Regions from separate parts of the Homo sapiens genome. Here regions 1, 3, 4 and 5 are each linked to region 2. Evidence: promoter capture Hi-C in human tissues and cell types (Jung and others, 2019). All regions are on one chromosome and are shown on one strand. The core of a region is centred on a gene start or on the middle of the fragment in contact, and the rest is flanking DNA. Distances in the headings are between cores, read along the strand shown.

Region 1 (5,355 bases), core at 1,624-4,123, 270 kb after region 2:
TACTTTCTACTGTTATTTTAGAGTGTACCCCTACTTATTAAAAAAAAAAGTTAACTGTAAAACAGCCTCAGACAAGTCCTTCAGTGTAATTCCAGGGAAGGCATTGTTACCATAGGAGATGACAGCTCCATGTCACCTCCATTATTGCTCCATTATTGCCCCTGAATACCTTCCCATGGAACAAGATGTGGAGGTGGAAGACAGTGATATTGATGATCTCGACCCTGTGTAGGCCTAGGCTAGTGCGTATGTTTGTATCTTACTTTCTAACAAAACAGTTTAAAAAGTAAAAAAAGAAAATTTTTTTAATAGAAGAAAGCTTATATAATAAGGATAATGAAAGAAAATATTTTGTATAATGTAAACACATACACCAAGGCGGGTGTATCACCTGAGGTCAGGAGTTTGAGACCAGCCTGGCAAACATGGCAAAACCCCGTCACTACTAAAAATACAAAAATTAGCCCAGCGTGGTGGCGCACGCCTATAGTTCCAGCTACTTGGGAGGCTGAGGCAGGAGAATTGCTTGAACCCGGGAGTTGGAGGTTGCAGTGAGCCAAGATCACGCCATTGCACTCCAGCCTGGGCGACAAGAGCGAAACTCTATCTCAAAAATAAAAAGAAAAAGCTATCTTGACCTTTGATTTGTTGGTGTTATTAAACTGTTCTTTTATTTTATTCAGCTTGAAAGGAGACTTTAATTTGTGCATTTTCCCCTTCAGGGAAACTTTTATGGATTTTTTTATTAAGTAACTGGCTTAGAAGATAGAATAGTCTCCCTAGGTTTTAGAATGTAATTAAGAAAAATTCAGCCCAAGGGAACCATGTGTTAAAATTAGGTGATACCATCTTAGTTGTACCAGCTTGAGTGTAGGTTCCTTAAGAGTGAACCTGAGTAGTAGATGCATATATCCTTTAACCATTAATTTGTTGGAGATTAATAAGCTACATCGTTTCTTTGCCGTTATTTCAGCAAAGCAGAAGTAATATAGTTTTGTCAGATCTTCTTTTTTTTTTTTTTTGAAACTGTCTCCCAGTCTGGAGTGCAATGGCGTGATCTCGGTTCACTGCAACCTCTGCCTCCCAGGTTCAAGTGATTCTCCTGTCTCAGCCTCCTGAGTAGCTAGGACTACAGGCACATGCCATCACACCCAGCTAATTTTTATGTTTTTAGTAGAGATGGGGTTTCACCATGTTGGGCAGGCTAGTCTTGAACTCCTGACCTCAGGTGATCCACCCTCCTCAGCCTCCCTAAGTGCTGGGATTACAGGTGTGAGCCACCGTGACTGGTCAGACTTTCTATCTGTTAGGCTTTCAGGAATGTTTTGAAAAGCAGAGGATTTAGAAATAGTTGTTAATAGTTTTTTTTTAAAGTCCTTAAGTTATTTCATAGGGGTGTTACCAAGGTGATTTTTGTTTAAATGACCCAGGAACATTTAAGTTCTACCTTTAACCAGTAAGAGAAAGTGATACTTTGTGACTAGCTCAGTCTTTGGTCTTTTATATTAAAGAACATTACTTGCTGTAACTGATTCACAAGGACCCCTTGATTGAGGTGCTTCCATTTTCTACACATGGCTTCCAAGTTCAGCTGAGGAAAGTGGAGGATGGGCCAATCCTAGAAATGGATTAATCACTTCCACTCATATTCCATTGCCAGAACTCAGTTTCAGGGCCATGCCTAACTACTGGAGGGCTGGGAAATGTCATGTGGCCTGTGCCTAGGAGGAAGGTGAATCATGCTTGATCAACATCTAACTAGTCCCTGCCACAGGACTCAAACCCCAATGTAGTCCTTAGCTTAGAACCATACAGAAATCCATTTATTTTGGTTATAGACAGCCTGGAACCATAGCCTCCTCTTTTTCCTTGTAGACACACAGAGTTTTGAGTTATAACAATTTTGAATGCAAGTAAAGGCCTTTTTCCCAAGCACAGATAGGAGATCTGGAAAAGCTTTTCTGCAGCCTGTGGCAGAGGTAGTCTCTGGCAACCCCAAGAAAGGCAGCTTGGTATTGGGGGTGGGGGGGAGAGAGAGAGAGAAAGAGAGAGAGAGAGAGAGAGAGACCCAAGTCCCTTCAAATACCTGGAAAGTCTTCCCAAGAATAACAGATGCAAACAAGCCCAGATCGCAAAGGCTACAATGTATATTTAACTCTTCAATGCCCAGACACTGACAAATACCCACAAGCGTTAAGACCATTCAGGAAAACATGACATCACCAAACAAACTACGTAAGGCACCAGGGACCAATCCTGGAGAGATAGAGATACATGACCTTTCAGACAGAGAATTCAAAATACCCATTTTGAGGAAATTCAGAGAAATACAGGATAACACAGATAAGGAAATCAGAATCCCCTAAGGTAACTTCAGCAAAGAAATGGAAATAATTAAAAAGAACCAAGCTGAAATTTTGGAGTTGAAAAATGCAGTTGATATACTAAGGAATGCATCAGAGTCCTTTAATAGCAGAACTGATTAAGCAGAAGAAAGAATTTATTTATTTATTTATTTTTTGAGATGGAGTCTCGCTCTGTTGCCCAGGCTGTAGTGCAGTGGCGTAATGGCTCCCTGCAACCTCTGCCTCCCAGGTTCAAGCGATTCTCCTGGCTCAGCCTCCCAAGTAGCTGGGATTACAGGTGTGTGCCACCACACCTGGCTAATTTTTTTGTTTTTTAGTAGAGACGGGGTTTCACCGTGTCAACCAGGATGGTCTCGATCTCCTGACCTCGTGATCCACCTGCCTCGGCTTCCCAAAGTGTTGGGATTACAGGCGTGAGCCACAGTGCCTGGCCCCAGAAGAAAGAATTAGTGAGCTCGAAGACAGGCTATTTGAAAATACACAGCCAGAGGAGACAAAAGAAGAAAAAGATAAAAAGGAATAAAAAGCATGCCTACAAGATCTAGAAAATAGCCTCCAAAAGGCAAATCTAAGCGTTTTGGCCTTAAAGAGGAGGTAGAGAGATAGGGGTAGAAAGTTTATCGAAATGAATAACAACAGAGAACTTCCCAAACTTAGAGAAAGATTTCTATATTCAAGTATAAGGTTCTAGAATGCCAAGCAGATTTAGCCCAAAGAAGACTATCTCAAGGCATTTAATAATCAAACTTCTAAAGGTAAAAGATGAAGGATCCTAAAAGCAGTAAGAGAAAAAACACAAATAACATACAATGGAGCTTCAATATGTCTGGGACCAGACTTTTCAGTGGAAACCCCTTACAGGCCAAGAGAGAGAGGCATGACATATTTAAAGTGCTGAAGGAAAAAACTTCTACCCTAGAATAGTATATCTGGTGAAAATATTCTTCAAACATGAAGGAGAAATAACGACTTCATAAGACAGAGAAGTCGAGTAATTTCATCAACACCAGACCTGTCCCACACAAATGCTAAAGGGAGTTCTTCAATCTGAAAGAAAAGGATGTTAATGAGCAATAAGAAATCATCTGAAGGTACAAAACTGACTGGTAATAGTAAGTACACAGAAAAACACAGAATACTATATTAATAACAATAATTATGGTGTATAAACGACTCATATCATGAAAAGATGAATTGATCAAGAATAATAACTACAACAACTTTTCCAGACATAGTATGGTATTAGGTTGTTGCAAAAGTAATTGTGGTTTTGGACTGTGAATTTTAAATCATTATAACTAGGCTCAAACACATCTTTATTAATCAAAATAGGAACCATTACAATCAACACATTTTCGCCAATGAGAAATGTTTGTTCTTGTTGTGTAAAAATCCATGCTTTGGGATTTGACGAACTCTTGGAAAGAATGTTCTGCATCCTGCTGGTCATGGAAATGTTTTCTCTGCAAAACGTTGTCGAGATGCTTGAAGAAGTGGTAGTTGGTTGGTGAGAGGTTAGGTGAATATGGCGGGAGGGAAAACTTCATAGCCCAATTCGTTCACTTGTTGAAGCTTGGTTGTGTGATGTGCAGTTGGGTGTTGTTGTGGAGAATTGGGTCCTTTTTGTTGACCAATGCTGGTGTCAGGCGTTGCAGTTTTTGGTGCATCTCATTAAGATTGCTGAGCATACTTCTCAGATGTTATGCTTTCACTGGGGTTCAGAAAGCTGTAGTGGATCAGACTGACAGCAGACCACCAAACAGTGACCGTGACCTTTATTTGATGCAAGTTTGGCTTTGGGAAGTGCTTTGGAGCTTCTTCTCAGTCCAGCCACTGAGCTGGTTGTCACAGGTTGTCATATAAAGTCCACTTTTCCTTGCATGTCACAGTGTGATCGAGAAGTGGTTCATTGTTCTGTAGAATAAGAGAAGATGACACTTCAAAATGATGATTATTTGATTTTCACTCAGCTCATGAGGCACCCACTTAACGAGCTTTTTCACCTTTTCGATTTGCTTCAAATGCTGAATGACTGTAGGATGGTCGATGTTGAGTTCTTCGGCAACTTCTTGTGTAGTTCTAAGAGATGATTGCTCACAATTGGTCGTTGTGAACTTCCGATGGTCGGCCACTACACTCCTCACCTTCAAGGCTTGCCTCCTTTGCAAAACTTTTTGAACCACCACTGCACTGTACAGTTGTTAGCAGTTCCTCTCCAAATGCATTGTTGATGTTGTGAGTTGTCTCCTTTGCTTTACGACCCATTTTGAACTTATTCAAAAATTGCTCATATTTGCTTTTTATCTAACTTCATTCCCATAGTCTAAAACATAAACAGCAAGTAAATAAGTCTCTAGCCAAAAAACATAAAAAATGAACATTAAAATGATGTATAATATAATGACATTTATTTAAGAATGTATTCCAAGACCGGGCATAGTGGCTCATGCCTGTAATCCCAGCACTTTGGGAGGCTGAGGTGGGTGGATCACCAGAGTTCAGGAGTTCGAGACCAGCCTGACCAACATGGTGAAACCTTGTCTCTACTAAAAATACAAACTTAGCCAGGCATGGTGGCACACACCTGTAATCCCAGCTACTTGGGAGGCTGAGGCAGGAGAATCGCTTGAACCCAGGAGGCAGAGGTTGCAGTGAGCCGAGATCATGCCATTGCACTCCAGACTGGGCAACAAGAGCAAAGTCTGTCTCAAAAAAAAAAAAAAAAAGAATGTATTCCAATATCAGATGACAAATTCTAATCATGCAAACCACCGCAATTACGTTTGTACCAACCTAGTAGTACTGGAAGTCTTAACTATGGTAATTAGACAAGAAAAAGAAATAAAGGGTATCCAAATTGGAAAAGAAGTCAAATTATCCTTGTTTGCAGATGATTTGATCTTATATTTGGCAAAAGCTTAAAGACTTCACCAAAAAACTATTAGAACTGATAAATTTAGTAAAGTTGCAGGATCCAAAGTCAACACAC
Region 2 (5,199 bases), core at 34-2,533:
ATCACTTATGTTGGGGAGACAGTGGGGGATAACGGGGGTGGGGAAATGGGAAGAGTTGCTCTCAGGGAGTAAAGGTGTGGGGAAAAGCAGAGCCAAACCGAGATAACCCTGTGTCTTGCCCATCCCTGCCAAGGAAAACACATACATGCAAGACACCTCTCCACTCAAACAGCACAGACTATTTCAAATCGCAGATGTGTCATTTAATTAATACCTGTGTGACTTTGGGAAAATTATAAATAGCCTTAACCTTGCTGAGTCTGTCCAATCTGTAAAATGGATTATGAATACTTTCCTCACAGGCTTATGGTGTGCTGGTAATATCTTCCTCTGGATGGCAGTTACATTGCAAAAAATAATTTAAAAAAAAGAACTGTATACATTTAAGATTTATACATTTTCTTTCTTCCTGGATGTAGAATAGGAAAAAAAGAAAAAGAAAAAAAAAAAGACTGGTGTATTTTCTGTATATATGCTATACTACGATTTTTAAAAAGGCTTGTACGAAATAAAAGAATATTCCTTTTCGGCCAGGCGCAGTGGCTCACTCCTGTAATCCCAGCACTTTGGGAGTCCAGGGCGGGTGGATCACGAGGTCAGGAGTTCAAGACCAGCCTGGCCAAGATGGCGAAACCCCGTCTCTACTAAAAAATACAAAAAAATTAGCCAGGCGTGGTATCGGGCGCCTGTAATCCCAGCTACTCGGGAGGCTGAGGCAGAGAATTGCTTGAACCAGGGAGGCGGAGGTTGCAGTGAGCCAAGATCGCGCCACTGCACTCCAGCCTGGGCGAGAGCGAGATTCCGTCTCAAAAAAAAAAAAAAAAAAGGAATATTCCTTTTCCAGGATTATTATGAAGATTCAATAAAACCATGTTTATTAAGTGTTAAGCACAGTGCCTGGCACATAACGTGCTGGGCGGGGTCTATGGTCCAGACAGGGGGACCAGGCACTTTCCAGCGCCTGGATCTGCAGACGCGAGGTCTTCTGTATTCTGGCCAATCTTGGTGTTGCAGCTGCTCTCTGGGCCTCAGTTTGCTTGAACTAAATGTAACGGGGCCAACTTAGGTGAACTTTGGGAATCCAGCCAACCTGACTTTAGGGAGAGTATGGAGCCACGGATGGCATTGTGAATCCGGAGGGCCGACACCAGAAGAACCTGCAACGTGGCATCTGCTACCTTACTTCCCCCGGAAAAGCGCCTGCGGCGGCGCCTAGGCGCGCGGTGCAATGTGGGCCAGCAAAAGGCGAGGCTGGCCCCGCCCCTTGCACCGCCCACGTGGCCAGCGCCACCTGCCTCATTGTGCCCAGGAGTTCTCCAAACCCGCGCTGCGGAGTGAGTGACCAAGTTCCGGCCAGTTCGACCTCGAGGATCCAGAGGTGGAGACGGTACTACCTCCCAGCTCTGTTTTCCATCCCCTTCAGGTCCTTCCTCGGGAGGCGGCGAAGGCGGTCCACCCTGCGCGTGATCCTTTATGCCCGGCCCCTGCCCCTCCCTCCGGGTGGAACTTCCCCCTCACCGCCAGACTTAAGCTGAGGATCGTTGGATCTCTGGCGGGGTGCAGAACTGAGCCCAGGCCACAGTACCCTATTCACGCTCTGTGCTTGTGCCAAGGTGAGTTTCTCTTGCTGCTGGCCTATCTTTCTCCCGGAGGAGATGGCCTCGATTCTTTACTACTGAAATGTAAGCCCCTGGGGTTGAGTGGAGAGCGCAGAGCACTGGAGGGGACGAGACTTGGTTTCGGATTTGAGCTCTTCTTTTTCTCTGTATGATCTCTTGCTAACTTCCCAGTTTCTCTGAACCTGTTTCCTCAGCAATAAAATGAGGTCCTACATTAGAACTGTAGCAAGAATTGAGATAAAGCTTTGAAGGCGCACAGCGCATACTAGGTGATCTGCAAGTTTTAATTGCCATCTTTTTGTTTGCTCACCTATGTGCTTTTTCCAGCTGCTCCGGCTTTCTTATGCAGGTGCAGGGATAGTTCTCAGAAGTGGGGAGAAGTGGGGATAATTCTCTTACTTAGACACCTGCTTTGGGTCTGAGAAAGTCTGACATGTTATTCTGTTGCCCCAGAACTCTGTTAAAGTAAGACACAGATCTGAACCTTCACTGGATGAGGCTACTGTTAATTAACTCTTCCCCTTCAGATCGTTCATACTCAGGGCTGCAGGCCTGTTACTTTTCCAAGATCTGTTTCCTTATCTTTAATACAGGAGCAATCTCAGTATGATTCTATCTGGTCCACTGGGATTTTTTGCCGAGTATAGTAAAGTGCTTTGATATTCTCCAAGAGGATTCTTTTCAGGTTTTCCAACAGGTAAAGGAAGAAGGTGACAGAGGCAGCGACTTCCTCAAATGTCCTTCCAGCTGGCCAAACTCAACCTGTCAAGATCTCTCCCCCATAAGCTGTGTGTGTGTGGTGTGTGTATTGTGTACATTGTATGTATGTATGTATGTATGTATGTATGTATGTATGTATGGGACAGGTACTCTAGGAGTGAGGGGTTCAGGCAGATGACAGGCTCAGACCTCAAGGAGTAGCCAGGTTTGTGGGGGAAATTTATATATAAACAGAAAAATGTAGTGATGTGCACATGCTATCAGTACATGGAAGTAGCCATCCATTTATTTATTTATTTATTTTCTTTTTAGAGATGGATGGGGGTCTCTCGGTCTTTTGCCCATGCTGGAGTGTAGTGGTGGAATCCTTGCTCAGTGCAGCCTCAAACTTCTGGGCTCAAATAATCCTGCCACCTCAGCCTTTGGACTATAAACTACATGCCACTGTGCCCAGTTAATCTTTAAAATAAAAAAAAAAAAATTCCCCCTAGCAAGCAGACTCAGAAAGAAAAAAACAAATTTTTGTAGAGACAGTGTTTCCTTTTGTTGCCCAGGTTTCAAGTGATCCTCCCGCCTCAGCCTGCCCAGGTGCTGAGATTACATGTATGAGCCACTGCACCTGGAAAGGAGCCAGAAATGTGAAGTGCTAGCTGAAGGATGAGCAGCAGCTAGCCAGGCAAAGGTAGGGTTTGGGGAAGGAAAGTGCACACACCTAGAGTCAGGTAAGTGATGTGACCCTGTTGAGTGTTCAAAGTCTGGAATACAGTCTGACATGAGGAGGTGGTGAAATGAGAAAGATAGAAGCCAGGTTTTGAGAAGCCTGGACTTTATCCTGAATATAGGGGAGAATTGCTGGAAGGGTTTGAGACTGGGAGTCACATGGTTGGATCTGGTGATGGACTGCGGGAAGAGGGACCACTCTGGAAGCCAAGATCTGTGGTTTAAGTAAAGAGTGATGGTCAGCTGGGCACAGTGGCTCATGCCTGTAATCCCAGCACTTTGGGAGGCCAAGGTGGGTGGATCACCTGAGGTCAGGAGTTCGAGACCAGCCTGGCCAACATGGTGAAACCCTCTCCGTACTAAAAATACAAAAAGTAGCTGGGTGTGGTGGCACACACCTATAATCCCAGCTACTGGGGAGGCTGAGGCAGGAGAATCACTTGAACCCGGGAAGCAGAGATTGCAGTGAGCCGAGATCATGCCACTGCATTCCAGCCTGGGCAACAGAGTGAGACTCTGTCTCAAAAAAAAATTTAAAAAGGCTGGGCACAGTGGCTTATGCCTATAATACCAGCACTTCGGGAGGCTGAGGCGGGCAGATCACGAGGTCAAGAGATGGAGACCATCCTGGCCAACATGGTGAAACCCCGTCTCTACTAAAAATACAAAAATTAGCTGGGTGTGGTGGCATGCGCCTGTAGTCCCAACTACTGGGGAGGCTGAGGCAGGAGAATCGGTTGAACCTGGAAGGCGAAGGTTGTAGTGAGCCGAGATCACACCACTGTACTCCAGCCTGGCGACAGAGCGAGACTCTGTCTCAAAAAAAAAAGAGTGGTGGTGGTCAGAGATGGGGCAGTGGCAGTGGAGGTAGATATGGATGGACTAGAGAAAGATTTAGGAATATATATTTTAAAATTCTTTTCACATACATCAAGAAGTACAGGAAGCATTATTGCAATCTTAGGTCTTAGGTTACATATTAGAGCATTCTCTTTTTCTGTAGCTATTAAGTATTAACAAGATTTAAAACCCAGCTAAACTGACAAAATCTGGCCAACATTACATATGTAAGGTGATTTTCCAAGCTGGCTTTTCTAGAAGTATAGGAGAGGCCGGGTGTGGTGGCTCATGCCTGTAATCCCAGCACTTTGGGAGGCTGAGGTGGGCGGATCACGAGGTCAGGAGATCGAGACCATCCTGGTTAACATGGTGAAACCCTGTCTCTACTAAAAAATACAAAAAAATTAGCTGGGCATGGTAGCGGGCACCTGTAGTCCCAGCTACTCGGGAGGCTGAGGCAGGAGAATGGCATGAACCCGGGAGGCGGAGCTTGCAGTGAGCCGAGATCACGCCACTGCCCTCCAGCCTGGGTGACAGAGCGAGACTCCGTCTCAAAAAAAAAAAGAAGTATAGGAGAAAGCCAGGTGTGGTGGCTCACACCTGTAATCCCAGCACTTTAGGAGGCCAAGGTGGGAGGGTCACTTGAGGCTAGAAGTTTGAGGGGGCAACACAGTGAGACCCTATCTCTACAAAAGAAAAATAAGGCCAGGCATAGTGGCTCACACTTATAATCCCAGCACTTTGGGAGGCTGAGGCAGAAGGACCACTTGAGCCCAGGAGTTTCAGACCAGCCTGGGCAACAAGGAGAAACCCTGTCTCTACGAAAAACACAAAAAATGAGCTGGACATCGTGGCCCATGCTTCTAGTCCCAGCTACCTGGGAGGCTGAATGGAAAGGATAGCTTGAGCTTGGGAGGTGGAGTTTGCAGTGAGCTGAGATCACACCACTGCCCTCCAGCCTGGACGTTAGAGCGAGACTCTGTCTCAATAAATAAGTAAATAAATAAGCTGGGTGTGGTGACATGTGCCTGTAGTCCCAGCTACTCGGGATTGCTCCAGTCCAGGAGTTCGAAGCTGCAATGAGCCATGAATGGGCCACTGCACTCCAGCCTGGGCAACAGAGTGAGACCCTGTCTCAAAAAGAAAAGTACAGGAGAAAATACTCTCCTCACCAACTACTTATCAAAACCATAATCTGATAATACTCATAAATGCCTGCAAGGAACTACAAATACTTTCTTTAGATGGCTTTTATTTATTTATTTTTTAGACAGGGTTTCAGTCTGTGGCCCAAGCTGGA
Region 3 (5,307 bases), core at 214-2,713, 320 kb after region 2:
CCACTGGTATATTGAGAGTAGACAGTGGAGGCAAGGGCTGCAGCAAAAAGACCAATTATGAGACTGTTGTGGTCAAAAAAAGCAAGAAATAATAACAGATTGGAGGGGTGATAGCAGTGGACGATGTGGAGGACTTTCTTATTGGCCATTTTTACAGATACGTGAAGCTCAGTAGCTTCCTCAAGGACAGACAAGTAGGTGTATGGCCAGGCTAGATGTATAGGTTAGGGTACTCTGAACTACAAGTAACAGAAATTTTGACTCTGAGTGGTTTAAATGTTAGGTAAATGTATTGACTCACAACAATGAAGTCCAGAGGTTGGATGGGTTTCAGAGTTGGGTAGTCTGGTGTATTTGCTCAGCTTCATTGCTCTTTTGCCTTCCTCTGTGTTTTGGCCTCATTCTCAAGCTTGCTTCCTATGTGTTAGAAAAAGAACTGTAGCAGTTTCAGTCTGCACAGTCACACACTACAACATCCCTACATCTTAATGGTAAAAGGACATCTGGGAGATTATGTGTGAGCATCTTTTCTTTACACTGGAGGAGCCTCTGTCGGTGTAGGAATTGACACTGTTTTGCTTGAAAAGCTGTTCAAGTTGGGTCTTTTTTGTGGTAAAAATTGGCTTTCATCTTACATCTACTTTTGAAGCATCTACACATGGAGAGACATTTGAGATTGAAGTTCCTTGTGAATTGAAGGAGGTGCTTTTATACTTGCCCTGTTTCCCAATCAACTTTATGGGGGATGATTTTAACTTTGAAAGGTCAGGGACTAGCCACCATAAGCAAATTTTTGTTATCAACTCTCTTAGTGCCATAATTTCCACATTATTTGCCCATAAGGCACATATAGTAATCTGTCTTCATTGTATAGACAGTGCAATTTCCCAGGTTCTGAATTGAAAATATTTGTTGTGCTGATAAAATTATTGCCTTCAGGCAAAAACTAAATTGTATAGTATTTTTATGCACCCCCCCCAACCCCCTGCTTGCTTTTTGCCTTTGCTGTTCAAAAACGAGAGTACTTAGAGTGTCATTGTTTACGGGTACTTAATTATTTTGGAGGATATATGACAACATAATGCATACTGGGAAGCATTATTATTGAGAAAGCCTTGGGACTTTTTTTATTTTGCAAATTATGACTGTCATAAATTATGGTCATCTTACAAAATGTGATTCAGCTAATTTTTAGTCTTTAAAAACAAAATCTTCAAGAACCAGGTAGATTTCAAACATTCAATTTCTTCTTGAAATTTCATTTTAAAAAGGCTGATGACATGGATAAAAATGTAACCTAATTATTTGCTTCTGTTGTTCTACATTTCCTTGTTCTTTTCTGTGGGAAGCTTGATAAAAGAAACATTTCAGTTTGTACTCTTCAGTTTTTAGTACCACTAAGATATTTTCATCAAGTCAGTAAATTAGATGGCTTTGAAGGTTAAGGAATTTATCTCACTCTTGTCCCTCTTCTTTGCCCTGACTCATGTATTCCTATTCTATGTTGCAGCTACACCAGTCTTGTACCTTTGTTTGTTTTTTTCATAGTCATTTTTTTCTGACATTCCCCCCATTCCTGAGTGGTTTTATCCTCCTTTTCTACCTATCAACCTTCTGATAATCCCCATGCAGTTAAAACCTGAGTACCTAATTTTCAAATATTATAGTCATTATGGGTAACTCCAGTATCTTTGTAGACAAGGATAATCAGTCCAGCCTCAGATCTTTAGAGTTCCTTGGCTATCTGGAGTCTGTGTTAACAATACATTCCTGTAGATGCCATGTATTCTGTAGAGGGAACTGTTTGATTCAGAAATCTTACAGTGATTTACAGTTACATCCCTTGATCACCTCTGAATTAAATTCTGGTGTTCTCTGTGTAAATCTAGATCACAAATTGGTGGTCTGGTGACTGTTTCCTGTAGATATATTTTATTTAGCCACCTTTGGAGATTTAAAGAAAAATCAACCAACATAGTCTCTATCAGTCCCCTTTTGTTTTATCCTCTGCTGCTTTATGTATTTACTGAATTTCATCTATTCTAAGGCTCACATCTTTTTACTTTATAACAGCTTTGAAATAGCGGTGTTACTCTTGATGGTGTGTTATACGTTAATTGGCCAGGCTTATTTTTGTTTTGCATTTTAAAAAATGTTTCTTACTGTTACAAAAAATAACAGTGTCTTTTGCAATTGATAGTTTTTCAGATTTGATAAAGTACAGTATATTACCTTACTGGCTTATTAAAGCATTTGAGTTTGCACCATTTGTTTCTCAATGTAAAGACCTCCACCTTTTTTTAGCTCTCTCCCTTTCCTTTTTCTAAAGTCTTGAAGATCTCTGTTCCTGTGATTCTTTTGTTTGTTTGTTTGTTTGTTTGTTTTTGAGACAGAGTTTTGCTCTTGTCACCCAGGCTGGAGTGCAATGGTGCAATCTTGGCTCACTGCAACCTCCGCCTCCTGGGTTCAAGCGATTCTCCAGCCTCAGCCTCCTGAGTAGTTGGGATCACAGGTTCCTGCCACCATGCCTGGCTAATTTTTGTAGTTTTAGTAGAGACAGGCTTTTGCCATGTTGGCCAGGCTAGTCTCGAATTCCTGACCTGAGGTGATCTGCCCACCTTGGCCTCCCAAAGTGCTGGGATTACAGGCATGAGCTACTGCGCCCAGCTTTTGATTCTTTGTATACCTGTTTGACATGCCTTTCTGTATCATCTGATATTGTTTTATTTTTTCTCAATTTATTTGAGGTATATAACATTTGTGAATTTTTTATTGTATAACCACATTCACATTTTGTTGGTAAACCCAACTCAGGAATAATGTATGATTCAGTTTTTTAAAATGCTCATGTATATAATGTAAGTTTCCTACTTTTCATCTTGAGGTAGTTTTGGTAAGGTATATGTTTTTAAGAGTTTGTCCATTTTGTTTATTTTGTTATTTATTGAGATCAATTTGTTTATATATATATATATATAAAATTTTTGTTCTTTTAAACCTTTGCTGATTTGTTCTTCTGTTTCTCTTTGTATTTCTAATATTGGGTATTAAGACTCTTTTTTTTCATTATCAAGTATCAGTGGAATGCCGAGTACAGTGGCTCATGCCTATAATCCCAGCACTTTGAGAGTGCCAGGTGGGTGAATCACTTGAGCCCAGGAGCTGGAGACCAGCTTGGGCAACATGGTGAGATGTCTGTACAAATTAAAAAAAAAAAAAATTTAAGTAGCCAGGCGTGGCGGTGCACACCTGTAGTTCCAGCTATTTGGGAAGCTAAAGTGGGAGGATCGTTTGAGCCTAGGAGGTCGATGCTGCCGTGAGCCATGATTGTGCCCCTGTACTCCAGCCTGGGTGACAGCAAGACCGTGTCTCAAAAAAAATTAAAATAACAACAACAAAAATTCATGGAAGATTTTTTTTGTTGTTGTTAGTTTTTCCAGAAACCAACTATCCCTTTATTTCAGCCTTTTCATATCAGTTTGCTTTTGGTATATCTCTTGCAAATGGCATACAGTAGGTTTTCTTTAAAAAAAAAAAAAAAAAGTCCTGTTTGTAATGAAAAGTTTGTCTGTGTACATTTATTATGATTAATGATATATTTGGACTTGTTTGTGCCATATTATTTTTTGTATTCCATATCCTACATCTCTATGCCTTACTGTCCCCTTTTTTTTTTACCCTTTAAAAATATTGGTAGAGTTTTTTTTCTTATTTTCTTTTTCTATTTCTACTGGTGTGTTAGAACAAATTCAAACTTTAACCCCCTCCTGAACACTACAAGCACTCCATGTCTCTTATTACCTCCCCCAAACTTATTTGGCCATGTAATCAAACTGAACTGAAACAGGCCAGTTTAAAAAACAACAACAAAACCATGAAATTCACTGTAACCAGAGGTGACCCAGTTTACCTGAGCTAGCATGATAAGAAAGTTCTGTTTTAACTCTATAAGGAGAGTCACTTTGTAATGAATAATCTGCTTTTTGTTCCCTGTTTGTGCTTTCTTAACCCATTTTCTGCTTAGAAAGCCAGCCCCCTCTGCTTAGCTCAGCAGAACACGCATTCTATTTTTAAGAATGAGATGTTACAGAATTGCAAACAAAAGTCAGTTTGATCTTTAAACTGAAAGTCAGTTTGATCTTTAAACTAAATCTGTTGTAATTTTGTCCTTTGACAATGGTATTGTCATCAGCAGTGGATTCTGAGTAGGCCCTAGAATGTTCACCACTCCTACCCTAAGCCCAAGCAGTGTTATTTATGTTAGTTACATTATGTGGGTTTAATTATGAGTTATATCAAGAGACATATAATATTTTAGTGGCAGAGAATACCTTTTTTTCATCATTGATTTGTTTGTTTTTCTTGAGTTCTCACTATGTTACCTAGGCTGGTCTCAAACTCTGGGCTCAAGTGATCCTCCCACCGTGGCCTCCCAAAGTGTTGGGATTACAGGCGTGAGCCACAGCACCTTGCCTCGTTGATTTTAAATGTTAGTTGAAAAGTTATTGTCTCCAAAACCCAATTCTCTATCCACTTCCAATGGAGTGGATTATTGGGTTATGTTTCTTAGAGTCTGTTAATTTCCTTCTCTGGAAAGAGTGCTGCTACTGCAGTAGGGATCAATATACGTATAGTGTGAGAATTCAATAGCAAATGAGCCAGGCTGAGTCCCAGGGAGGGAGTTGCCTCAGGCATAGACAGCTTTGACCCATAGTCATCTCCACGCTGGTGACTGTTGACATAAAGGACAAGGACCAGCCTTGTGACTCCTGGCTTGCATATTTACTTGTGGGGGTAGCGGTTACTGCCTTTGGACACTTGGCCTTTGTCTTTTCTTTGGAAATATTTTATGGCTTTAGTCATTGTGAATAATGAGTAGTGCATATAGGCAGTGAATCCTCATCTGTGGGAATAGCACCATTTCGTGGTTTTTTTTTTTTTTTGAGACGGAGTTTTGCTCTTGCTTCCCAGGCTGGAGTGCAATGGGGCAATCTCGGCTCACCGCAACCTCCACTTGCTGGGTTCAAGAGATTCTCCTGCCTCAGCCTCCTGAGTAGCTGTGATTACAGGCATGCGCTACCACGCCCTGCTAATTTTCTTATTTTTAGAAGAGACGGGGTTTCTCCATGTTGGTCAGGCTGGTCTCAAACTCCCGACCTCAGGTGGTCCACCAGCCTCGGCCTCCCAAAGTGCTTGGATTACAGGCGTGAGCCACCACGCCTGGCCATGAATAGCACCATTTCATGTTTTATTTAATACCTTTAGAAGTTTGCTTTGTGGACAATGAAAGAGAGTGACTGGTTATTT
Region 4 (5,251 bases), core at 2,164-4,663, 270 kb before region 2:
CTGGAGTGCAGTGGCACCATCTTGGCTCACTGCAACCTCCGCTTCCCAGGCTCAAGCTATCCTCCCACCCCTGTCTCTTAAGTAGCTTACAACAGAGCAAGACTCTGTCCATGAAAATATAAATAAATGGCTGGGTACGGTGGCTCACGCCTGTAATCCCAGCACTTTGGGAGGCCAAGGAGGATGGATCACCTGAGGTTAGGAGTTCAAGACCAGCCTGGCTAATGGGGCAAAATTCCATCTCTACTAAAAATACAAAAGTTAGCCAGGTGTGGTGGTGCGCACCTGTAGTCCCAGCTACTTGGGAGGTTGAGACAGGAGAATTGCTGAACCCAGGAGGCAGAGGTTGCAGTGAGCCGAGATCACGCCACTGCATCCCAGCCTGGGTGACAGAGTGAGACTCCGCCTCAAAAAAAATAAAAAATAAAATAAATAAATAAAAATTTTTAAAAATTCAGGCCAGAAGTGATGGCTTACACCTGTAATCCCAGCACTTTGGGAAGCTGAAGTGGGAGGATCACTGGAGGCCAAGAATTCAAAACCAGACTGGGCAACATAATGAGACTCTGTCTCCACAAAAAAACAAATACAAAATTAGCTGGGCATGGTGGTGGGTGTCTGTGGTCCCAGCTACTCTGGAGGCTGAAGTAGGAGGATCACTTGAGCCCAGGAGTTTGAGACTGCAGTGAGCCATGATCATGCTACTGCACTCCTGCTTGTGTTACAAAGCAAGACACAGTGTCAAAAAAAAAAAAAAAAAATTACTCAAGCCCTGTCCCACACAATGTGGAAGTCTGTGCTAAAAAACTTTGTGTTTTGTATATTCCTTGGAAAAATCTCGTGTTCCCCTTATCTCTGCTTCTCCTGTTCTCCAGCTCATGATGACTTCTCTATTTGACCTAAGGTTCTTCCTTGGACCTTCCCATCTTCTCATTTATTCTCCTCACTGACCCCCTCTCTCCAACTTTCTCAGGCCTATTCCCCCAGGCTGCCCCAAACTCCAAATTCCTCTCACTTCTTCCTTTCTTGAGCAGAGCAATTCTGCTCTCTTTATCTCATACCTCCCCCTCCCTTCCTTACCCCTCCCAAGAATCACTGGCTGTTTCCTCAATAAAAAGAACCACCTGGCCAGGCGCGGTGGCTCACGCCTGTAATCCCAGCACTTTGGGAGGCTGAGGTGGGTGGATCACTTGAGGTCAGGAGTTCAAGACCAGCCTGACCAACATGGTGAAACTCCATCTCTACTAAAAATACAAAATTATCTGGGCGTGGTGGCGCATGCCTGTAATCCCAGCTACTCGGGAGGCGGAGGCACGAGAATAGCTTGAACCCTGGAGGTGGAGGTTGCAGTGAGTGAGATCATGCCATTGCACTCCAGCCTCGGCAACAAGAGCGAAAAAACAAACAAAAAAGAACCACCTATCCGTGCTGCGAATGTTGTCCCTTCCCTGGAAGTGATAATAAGCCAGGAATTATCTTTCTGAAGAGCAACATTTTTCCTTCCCACTATTACATAGAGAAAATCATTCCTTTACCATCACCATCTGCCCATCCTCTGTGCCTCTCCATACACTGTTCCCTCTGCCTGGAACACCCCACACAATCCCCAGCACCGTCACTTGGCCCATCCATCATACGAAACTTCAAGTCTCCCTCAAACATTACGATCCCCAGCACCTCTTACATTTGCTGACTGAATAAATAAGTAAATTATGTCTTCTCAACTCTCAAATACAAACAGCATTCATCTCTGCAAAAAATCTTCAGCAAAAATAAAGCAAAATTGGCTCAGATTTAATCTCACGGGCCTCAAATTTTGAGCTACCCTTATCAGTAGTTTCTCCTCCTGCTGCTTTATTTCTAGAATTGTTATTAGCTCCTCCAAGGTGAAAGTTAGCCAAGACTGGATCATACTTCCCTTTCCTTCCTCATGTTCATTAACTCCTTTAATTCCTGTATTTCCAGGATGGAGCACGCTGCTTGTCAGAAACACAGCTGTTTCCCTGTGGTCTCTGTACCATTTTGTAAGACCTTTTTGGCATTTTGGCATTTGCTCAACATTTGTGGGTTTGCTTTCCTTCCTTTGCAAGTGAAATAGCTTCAATAGTAGCTAATAGCTAACAACACAATTCTTCTGATTTCTTAAAAATTATACTCTAGATCATTTGGAAAAGAGCTGCTTTCACATCGTAAGTAGCAAATTTAGAGAAAGGAATGCTCACATTTATCGAGATGTGGTCTTAAGGTAAAAACAGGTAACTATGCACTATGGCACTAATACTTTAATAATTATTTGTGTTGTTGATTCTAATGCTATTTTCCCATAGCATTCCCATATACATTGCAGATTAGCAAAGTAAATATTTCATCAGCCCCAATCTTCTAGAAAATGTCATATGTTTAACCCCTAACATATTGGTCATTTTTGTTGTTTCCCTTTTCAGTATTTTATAAAAAACATTTTGAAGTGTTTTCACAAAGTTTACAATTTCCTTTTTCTTTTCTTTTCTTTCTTTCTTTTTCTTTCTTTCTTTCTTTCTTTCTTTCTTTCTTTCTTTCTTTCTTTTTCTCCTTCCTTCCTTCCTCTCTCTCTTTCTTTCTTTCTTCTTTCTTTCTTTTTTTGATTTTGAGATAGGGTTTCCCTCTGTTACCCAAGCTAGAGTGCTGCGATCATAGCTCACTGCAACCTTGAACTCCTGGGCTCTAGTGATGCTCCTGCCTCAGCCTCCTGAGTAGCTAGGACTACAGACACATGCCACCATGTCTGACAAATTTTTTAAATTTTTTTTTGTAGAGGCCAGGCACTGTGGCTCACGCCTGTAATCATAGCACTTTGGGAGGTCTATGCAGGCAGCTCACTTGAGGTCAGGAGTCTGAGACCAGCCTGGCCAACATGGTAAAACCGTGTCTCTACTAAAAATACAAAAATTAGCTGGGCATGGTAGTGTGTGCCTGTAATCCCAGCTATTTGGGAGGCTGAGGCAGGAGAATCGCTTGAATCTGGGAGGTGGAGTTTGCAGTGAGCTGAGATGGCGCCACTGCACTCCAGCCTGGGCAACAGAGCGAGACTGCATCTAAAAAAAAAAAAGGGGGGGTTGTGTTTTATAGAGACAGGGTCTCACTATGTTGCCCAAGCTGGTCTCAAACTCCTGGCTTCAAGCGATCTTCCCACCTCAGTCTCCCAAAGTTCTGGGATTACAGGCAACAGCCACTGTGCCCAGACTCCTTTGCCCATTTTTAAATTTAGTTATTGTTTTCTCACTATTAGGTTGTATGAGTACATGTTCTTTAATTTTTTTCCCTTGCAAATCAACACAGAATGAACTGAATAAACACCAATGGGCATCCAAATTAGCATGAAGAGTCAGCATTTTCAGCATAACTTAATGGTGGCTATTGGATCTCAATTGTAATAAATTTATAAAATATGCATTTTGTCACCACTATCAGCAACTTCATTTTTCCATTTCCCACTTATTTATATAAAATACCAGTAAAATGCACAAAAAAATCAAATAGCTGTACAAATCATCTTGTACTGACAAAGTTGGCAAAACCAGAATTGCTTAGCACAGTATGAGATAAAAATGTTCACTTATCAGCAGATGTGCAAACATTCAACATGCTTTATTTAGGCCGGGTGCAGTGGCTCATGCCTGTAATCCCAGCACTTTGGGAGGCTGAGGCAGGTGGATCACGAGGTCAGGAGATCAAGACCATCCTGGCTAACACAGTGAAACCCCATCTCTACTAAAAAAAAAAATACAAAAAAATTAGCCTGCCGTGTTGGCAGGTGCCTCTAGTCCCAGCTACTTGGGAGGCTGAGGTAGGAGAATGGCGTGAACCCAGGAGGCGGAGCTTGCAGTGAGCAGAGATCGTGCCACTGCGCTCCAGCCTGGGCGACAGAGCCAGACTCCATCCCAAAAAAAAAAAAGCTTTATTTAGAGATATCAAAGTGTAATGTACAAAATTACAGGTTGTAATTAAGTCAAGAACTACCCCTACTTCTCTTTTGACCATCTTTTTTAAAGTTAATGACACTGGTTGGTGGAGCCAAGATGGCCGAATAGGAACAGCTCCCGTCTACAGCTCCCAGTGTGAGCAACACAGAAGACGGGTGATTTCTGCATTTCCAACTGAGGTACCGGGTACATCTCTCTGGGGAGTGTTGGACAGTGGGTGCAGGAGAGTGGGTGCAGTGCACTGAGCATAAGCTGAAGCAGGGCGAGGCATCGCCTCACCCGAGAAGTGCGAGGGGTCAAGGAATTCCCTTTCCTAGTCAAAGAAAGGGGTGACATACGGCACCTGGAAAATCGGGTCATTCCCACCCTAATACTGTGCTTTTCCAACGGTCTTAGCAAACGGCACACCAGGAGAATATATCCTGCGCCTGGCTGGGAGGGTCCTACACCCACAGAGCCTCCCTCATTGCTAGCACAGCAGTCTGAGATCAAACTGCAAGGCAGCAGCGAGGCTGGGGGAGGGGCACCTGCCATTGCCGAGGCTTGAGTAGATAAAGCGGCCAGGAAGCTCGAACTGGGTGGAGCCCACTGTAGCTCAAGGAGGCCTGCCTGCCTTCCTTTGTAGACTCCACCTCTGGGGGCAGGGCATAGCCAAACAAAAGGTAGCAGAAACCTCTGAAGACTTAAATGTCCCTGTCTGAAAGCTTTGAGGAGAGTAGTGGTTCTCTCGGCACGGAGTTTGAGATCTGAGAACAGACAGACTGCCTCCTCAAGTGGTTCCCTGACCCCCAAATAGCCTAAATGGGAGGCACCCCCCAGTAGGGGCAGACTGACACCTCACACGGCCGGGTACTCCTCTGAGACAAAACTTCCAGGGGAATGATCAGGCAGCAACATTTGCTGTTCACCAATATCAGCTGTTCTGCAGCCTCCGCTGCTGATACCCAGGCAAACAGGGTCTGGAGTGGACCTCCAGCAAACTCCAACAGACCTGCACCTGAGGGTCCTGACTGTTAGAAGGAAAACTAACAAACAGAAAGGACATCCACACCAAAACCCCATCTGTACGTCACCATCATCAAACACCAAAGGTAGATAAAACCACAAAGATGGGGAAAAAACAGAACAGAAAAACCGGAAACTCTAAAAAGCAGAGCGCCTCTCCTCCTCCAAAGGAATATAGCTCCTCACCAGCAAAGGAACAAAGCTGGATGGAGAATGACTTTGACGAGTTGAGAGAAGAAGGCTTCAGACGATCAAACTACTCCGAGCTAAAGGAGGAAGTTCGA
Region 5 (5,411 bases), core at 2,255-4,754, 400 kb after region 2:
CCAGAATCTGAGGCAGTGCCCAGTCTAGGGTTTTTAAATTTTTCTCCTATCTCTTTTACCAGGTTGATTCCATTAGAACTGTGTGAATGTCAACTGCAAATAATCAAAGACAGAATTATCTTGTTTTCTTGGTGGTGGGGAGATTTACTAAGGTGTGGTGGAAAATCCTATCCTCATCTTGAGACTGGGGATGGAGACAAGTTGCCTGTCATGAAGGGAACTTGCTACTACGTCACATAAATTATTCCAGGGCAGAAGATTGTACTGGCTTATATTTGGCCAATTTCCTCCCTCTCTTTATGTCTTTTCTTTAAAACCCTTGATTCCTTCCAAGTGTTCTTAGTCTATTAAATTCATGATATCTTGGGCTTGGCATTCCAGGTTTAGACCTGTATTTGTTTCTTTTCCCTGTAAGTTGTAACTGTTGCAGGAACATGTAGCAGAGATGTTTAGATTTGGCTGGTATAATCTGCCTGGGACTGAATTATGCTTCCTTTGCATTGCTGGTGGTCTTTTCTGCTATAAGATATAGTGAAAGGATTCAGGATTGTTCAGTGTAGAGATAATCTGTACCTCTTTATTTTTTGTCTGGCTCAAGATAGCGCTCTCTTTATTGTGTCCTGATATAGGGTTGATAGTCACAATAGTAGTCAAGGTGGTCACGACTAAAGACTTTGGTGGGAGCATACTGTTTCCTTAGTCTCTGTCATAGCAGACCTGCTCCCCAATATTTGTGCCTACGTCAGAGTTTTGCACCAGTCCCTAGGGTACTTATTGCTGTCCTCTCGTCCATGAAGTTAGGCCACATAAAATGCCCTTGATTTTCTGGATACTTGACTTTTAGATCATTTGAGGATGAAGCACCACACTAAGAAAGTCCGAGGGCAAAGAAAATTCAAGTTAGATTAGGCCTTCAAATAATGTTATTATTTTATCTTGACTTAGGGAAAGCTATGTAGCATTTCTTAGCCTTCAGTTCCTTGTCCAAATAAAGGGATAATAATAGTCGCTGCTTCATAGGGTGTGAGATACTACATGTAATGCTTTAAACCAGGGTTGTTAGTTTTACAAGCCAATCTTTTGGCTTCCCTCTGCCACATAGGAAGAATTGTCTTGGGCCACACACAGAATACACTAATGATAGCTGATGAGCTTTAAAAAAAAAAAAAAAAAAAAAAAAACCCAAACACCTCATAATGTTTTAAGAAAATTTCCAAATTTGTATTGAGCCACATTCAAAGCTGTCCTGGACTGCATGTGGCCTGTGGGCTGCCAGTTGGACAAGTTAGCTTTAAACCAAGCCCAGTGAGCTCTTAGTAATTGTTAGATATTATCATTGTTGTTTTAAATGCATAGCTGATTTCAGCAGAACATGAGGAAAACCCTGAGGGACCCAAATCAGAGAGAGAAAACAACACCTAATCAATAAGAGTAGAAGTGCTAGCCAGAGCAGTAGGCAAGAGAAAGAAATAAAGGGTACCCAAATAGAAAGAGAGGAAGTCAAACTACCCTTGTTTGCAGATGACATGATTCTATATGTAGAACACCTGATAGTCTCAGCCCAAAAGCTTCTTTTATTTTTTTGAGACGGAGTCTCGCTCTGTCGCCCAAGCTGGAGTGTAGAGGGCCCATCTCGGCCCACTGCAAGCTCCACCTCCCAGGTTCATGCTATTCTTCTGCCTCAGCCTCCCGAGTAGCTGGGACTACAGTTGCCCGCCACCACACCCGGCTAATTTTTTGTATTTTTAGTAGAGACAGGGTTTCATCATGTTAGCCAGGATGGTCTTGATTTGCTGACCTCGTGATCCACCTGCCCTGGCTTCCCAAAGTGCTGGGATTACAGGCATGAGCCACTGCGCCTGGCCCCAAAAGCTTCTTAAGCTGATAAACAACTTCAGCAAAGTTTCAGGATACAAAATCAATCACTAGCAGAAAGCACTAGCATTCCTATCCGCCAACAGCAGCCAGGGAGAGAGCCAAATCAGGAAGGCAGTCCCATTTACAATTGCCACAAAAAGAATAAAATACCTAGGAATACAGCTAACCAGAGACGTGAAAGATCTCTACAATGAGAATTGCAAAACACTGCTCAAAGAAATCGGAGAGGACACAAACAAATGGAAAAACATACCATGCTCATGGATAGGAAGAATCAATATCATTAAAATGATCATATTGCCTGAAGCAATTTATAGATTGAATGCTATTTCTATCAAACTACCAAGAGTATTCTTCACAGAACTAGAAAAATTATTTAAAAAATTATATGGAACCGGGCCGGGTGCGGTGGCTCACGCCTGTAATCCCAGCACTTTGGGAGGCCAAGGCGGGTGGATCATGAGGTCAGGAGTTCAAGACCAGCCTGGCTAATATGGTGAAACCCCATCTCTAGTAAAAATACAAAAAATTAGCTGCATGTGGTGGTGTGTGTCTGTAGTCTCAGCTACCTGGGAGGCTGAGGCAGGAGAATTGCTTGAACCTGGGAGGTGAAGATTGGAGTGGACTGAGATCATGCCACTCCATTCCAGCCTGGGCGACAGAGTGAGACTCCATCTCAAAAAAAAAAAAAAAAAAAAAAAAAAAGTCATATGGAACAAGAAAAGAGCCCAAATCGCCAAGGCAATCCTAAGCAAAGAGAACAAAGCTGACTTCAAACTATACTACAGGGCTACAGTAATTAAAACAGCATGGTGCTGGTACAAAAACAGGGACATAAACCAATAGAACAGAACAGAGAGCCTATTTTAAAAATCAGGGGTTTTAAAATCGTAGGCCACACACCTATGATAACCTGATCTTTGACAAAGCTGACAAAAACAAGCAATGGGGAAAAGACTCCCTATTCAGTAAGTGGTTCTGGGATAACTGGCTAGCCATAAGCAGAAGACTGAAGCTACATAGTACCCCTCCTTTACATCATATACAAAAATCAACTCAAGATGCGTTAAAGACTTAAACGTAAAACTATGAAAACCCTGGAAGACAACCTAAGCAGTACCATCCTGGACACAGGAATGGGCAGATTTCATGACAAAGACACCAAAAGCGATTGCAACAAAAGCAAAAATGGACAAGTTTAATTAAACTTAAGAGGTTCTGCACAACAAAAGAAACTATCAACAGAGTAAACAGACAACCTACAGAATAGGAAAAAATATTTGCAATCTGCATCTGACAAAGGTCTAATATTCAGCATCTATAAGGAACTTAAACAAATTTACAGGAGAAAAACAACCCCATTAAAAAGTGGGCAAAGGACGTGAACAGATACTTTTCAAAAGAAGGCATACATGCGACCAACAAGCATAAGAAAAAAAGCTCAATATCACCGAGCATTAGAGAACTGCAAATCAAAACCACAATGAGATCTATCATTTCACACCAGTCAGAATGGCTGTTGTTAAAAGTAAAAAAATAACAGATGCTGGCAAGGTTGTGGAGGAAAGGGAACACTTACACACTGTTGGTGGGAGTGTAATTTAGTTCAACCATTGTGGAAAGCAGTATGGTGATTCCTCAAAGAGCTAAAAGCAGAAGTACCATTTGACCCAGCAATTTCATTACTAGGTATATACCCAGAGGAATATAAATCATTCTGCCATAAAGACACATGCACACGAATGTTCATTATAGCACTATTCACATTAGCAAAGACATGGAATCAACCTAAATGCCCATTAATGATAGATGGGATAAAGAAAATGTGGTACATATATACCATGGAATGTTATGCAGCCATAAAGAACAAGATCATGTCTTTTGCGAGAACATGGATGGAGCTGGAGGCTACGATCCTAAGTAAACTAACCCAGGAACAGGAAACCAAATACCGCATGTTCTTACTTATAAGTGGGAGCTGAATGAAGATAACTCATGAACACAAAGAAGGGAAAACAACAGACATTGAGGTCTACTTGGGGGTGGAGAGAGAGAGGAGGGAGAGGAGCAGGAAAAGTAACTATTGGGTGCTAGGCTTAATATCTGGGTGATGAAACAACCTATACAACAAACCCCTGTGTCAGGAGTTTACCTATGTACCTGAATATGTACCCCTGAACCTAAAAAATAATAATAATAACAGTGGGAGCCAGCTTTGAAGCTTCCAAAAATGGGGTCAGGGAGGAGATGTGCTAGTCTCAATAACCTTGAGGGGAAAAAAGATGAGGTCTTGGCTTGTTTAGTGTAAGCAATTAGAATGGACACCCCCTACATACAATTAGGACCCTCAAAAGACTTCACCCTCAGTGCAGGAATGGACTAGGAAAACCACTGGCATGTACAGATAAAAAGAACTTTCTTAATCTCATCTGGATTTTAAATAGGGCTTTTAATAAAGGAAAGACGTCTCCCTTGAAAATTTCTACCTGTAAGCCTTCACTTAACTGAAATTGGGGGTTGGAGTTTATACTCTTTGTGTGGTCTAGAAGCTGGTTCTGGGCTGGTAATAACTCTGGCTCATCTGTCAGAAACAAACTTAACACTTCTATTAAGTGACATACCCTCAAATCAGGTATCATAGGATTCTCATAAATGCAGCTTCACTGAAGGTAAGTTTGTAGTACAAAATTACAAACCAACCAACCAATCTCCCCTAAGTGAAAATCAATAGATAAAAGAAACAGTTTGGAACTTCAGAAAGTAGCATTAGAGGGTGGGCACAGTGGCTCACAACTTTCATCTTAATACTTTGGATGGCTGAGGCGAGTGGACTGCTTGAGCCCAGGAGTTCGAAACCAGCCTGGGCAACATGGTCAAACCCTGTCTCTACAAAAAAATACGAATGTTAGCTGAGTGTGGTGGCTCATGCCTGTAATCCCAGCACTTTAGGAGGCTGAGGTGGGAGGATCGCTTGAGCCCGGGAGTTCAAGACCAGCCTGAACAACATAGTGAAGTCTCATCTCTACTAAATTTTTTTTTTTTTAATTAGCTGGGCATGGTGGTGCATGCTTGTTTTCTCAGCTACTTGGGAGGCTGAGGTGAGGATTGCTTGTGTCAGGGAGGTCAAGGCTGCAGTGAACTGTGATTGTGCCATTGCACCCTAGCCTGGATGACAGAGTGAGAACCTGTCTCAAAAAGAAAAACAAAGTAACATTAGAGATTAAGACTGTAAGATTAGTATATTTAAAATTATTAAGAATATAAAAGAAGGAGGCTGGACATGATGGCTTATGCCTGTAATCCCAGCAGTTTGGGAGGACAAGACGGGCGGATCACTTGAGCCCAGGAGTTCAAGACCATCCCAGACAATATGGTAAAACCCTGTCTCTACAAAAAATACAAAACTTAGTCAGGCATGGTAGCATGGGCCTGTGGCCCCAGCTACCCTGGAGGCTGAGGTGGGAGGATCACCTGAGCCCAGGAAATAGAGGCAACAGTGAGTGGAGATTGAGCCACTGCACTCCAACCTGGGT

What was found. Contacts are between HindIII fragments. The study calls those that stand out against the background at their distance.
Region 1: a fragment that was not itself captured here is called in contact with the fragment with the promoter of AKR1A1 in region 2 in 1 of the 25 tissues and cell types used here (bladder).
Region 3: a fragment that was not itself captured here is called in contact with the fragment with the promoter of AKR1A1 in region 2 in 1 of the 25 tissues and cell types used here (adrenal gland).
Region 4: a fragment that was not itself captured here is called in contact with the fragment with the promoter of AKR1A1 in region 2 in 1 of the 25 tissues and cell types used here (hippocampus).
Region 5: a fragment that was not itself captured here is called in contact with the fragment with the promoter of AKR1A1 in region 2 in 1 of the 25 tissues and cell types used here (neural progenitor cells).

Annotation. Positions count from the first base shown.
Region 1 is chr1:45,814,178-45,819,532 of GRCh38, forward strand. The region is part of intron 1 of MAST2 (microtubule associated serine/threonine kinase 2); the gene reads left to right. Among named protein-coding and RNA genes, the nearest start is that of MAST2, 13 kb to the left of the region's middle. The HindIII fragment of the contact is 3,473 bases long and covers 1,138-4,610 here.
Region 2 is chr1:45,549,543-45,554,741 of GRCh38, forward strand. AKR1A1 (aldo-keto reductase family 1 member A1) reads left to right here and starts at 1,284. Exons shown (of 9, transcript NM_153326.3): 1 at 1,284-1,613. RefSeq lists enhancers at 967-1,026, 1,077-1,306, 1,537-1,756. The HindIII fragment of the contact is 19,939 bases long and covers 1-5,199 here.
Region 3 is chr1:45,867,555-45,872,861 of GRCh38, forward strand. The region is part of intron 3 of MAST2 (microtubule associated serine/threonine kinase 2); the gene reads left to right. It overlaps LOC105378694 (a long non-coding RNA gene), which reads right to left. Exons shown (of 5, transcript XR_001738038.2): 5 at 330-417. Among named protein-coding and RNA genes, the nearest start is that of MAST2, 67 kb to the left of the region's middle. RefSeq lists a silencer at 183-477. The HindIII fragment of the contact is 5,380 bases long and covers 1-4,153 here.
Region 4 is chr1:45,280,520-45,285,770 of GRCh38, forward strand. No RefSeq gene overlaps it. Among named protein-coding and RNA genes, the nearest start is that of LINC01144, 21 kb to the right of the region's middle. The HindIII fragment of the contact is 3,771 bases long and covers 1,529-5,251 here.
Region 5 is chr1:45,946,151-45,951,561 of GRCh38, forward strand. The region is part of intron 4 of MAST2 (microtubule associated serine/threonine kinase 2); the gene reads left to right. Among named protein-coding and RNA genes, the nearest start is that of MAST2, 150 kb to the left of the region's middle. The HindIII fragment of the contact is 3,569 bases long and covers 1,721-5,289 here.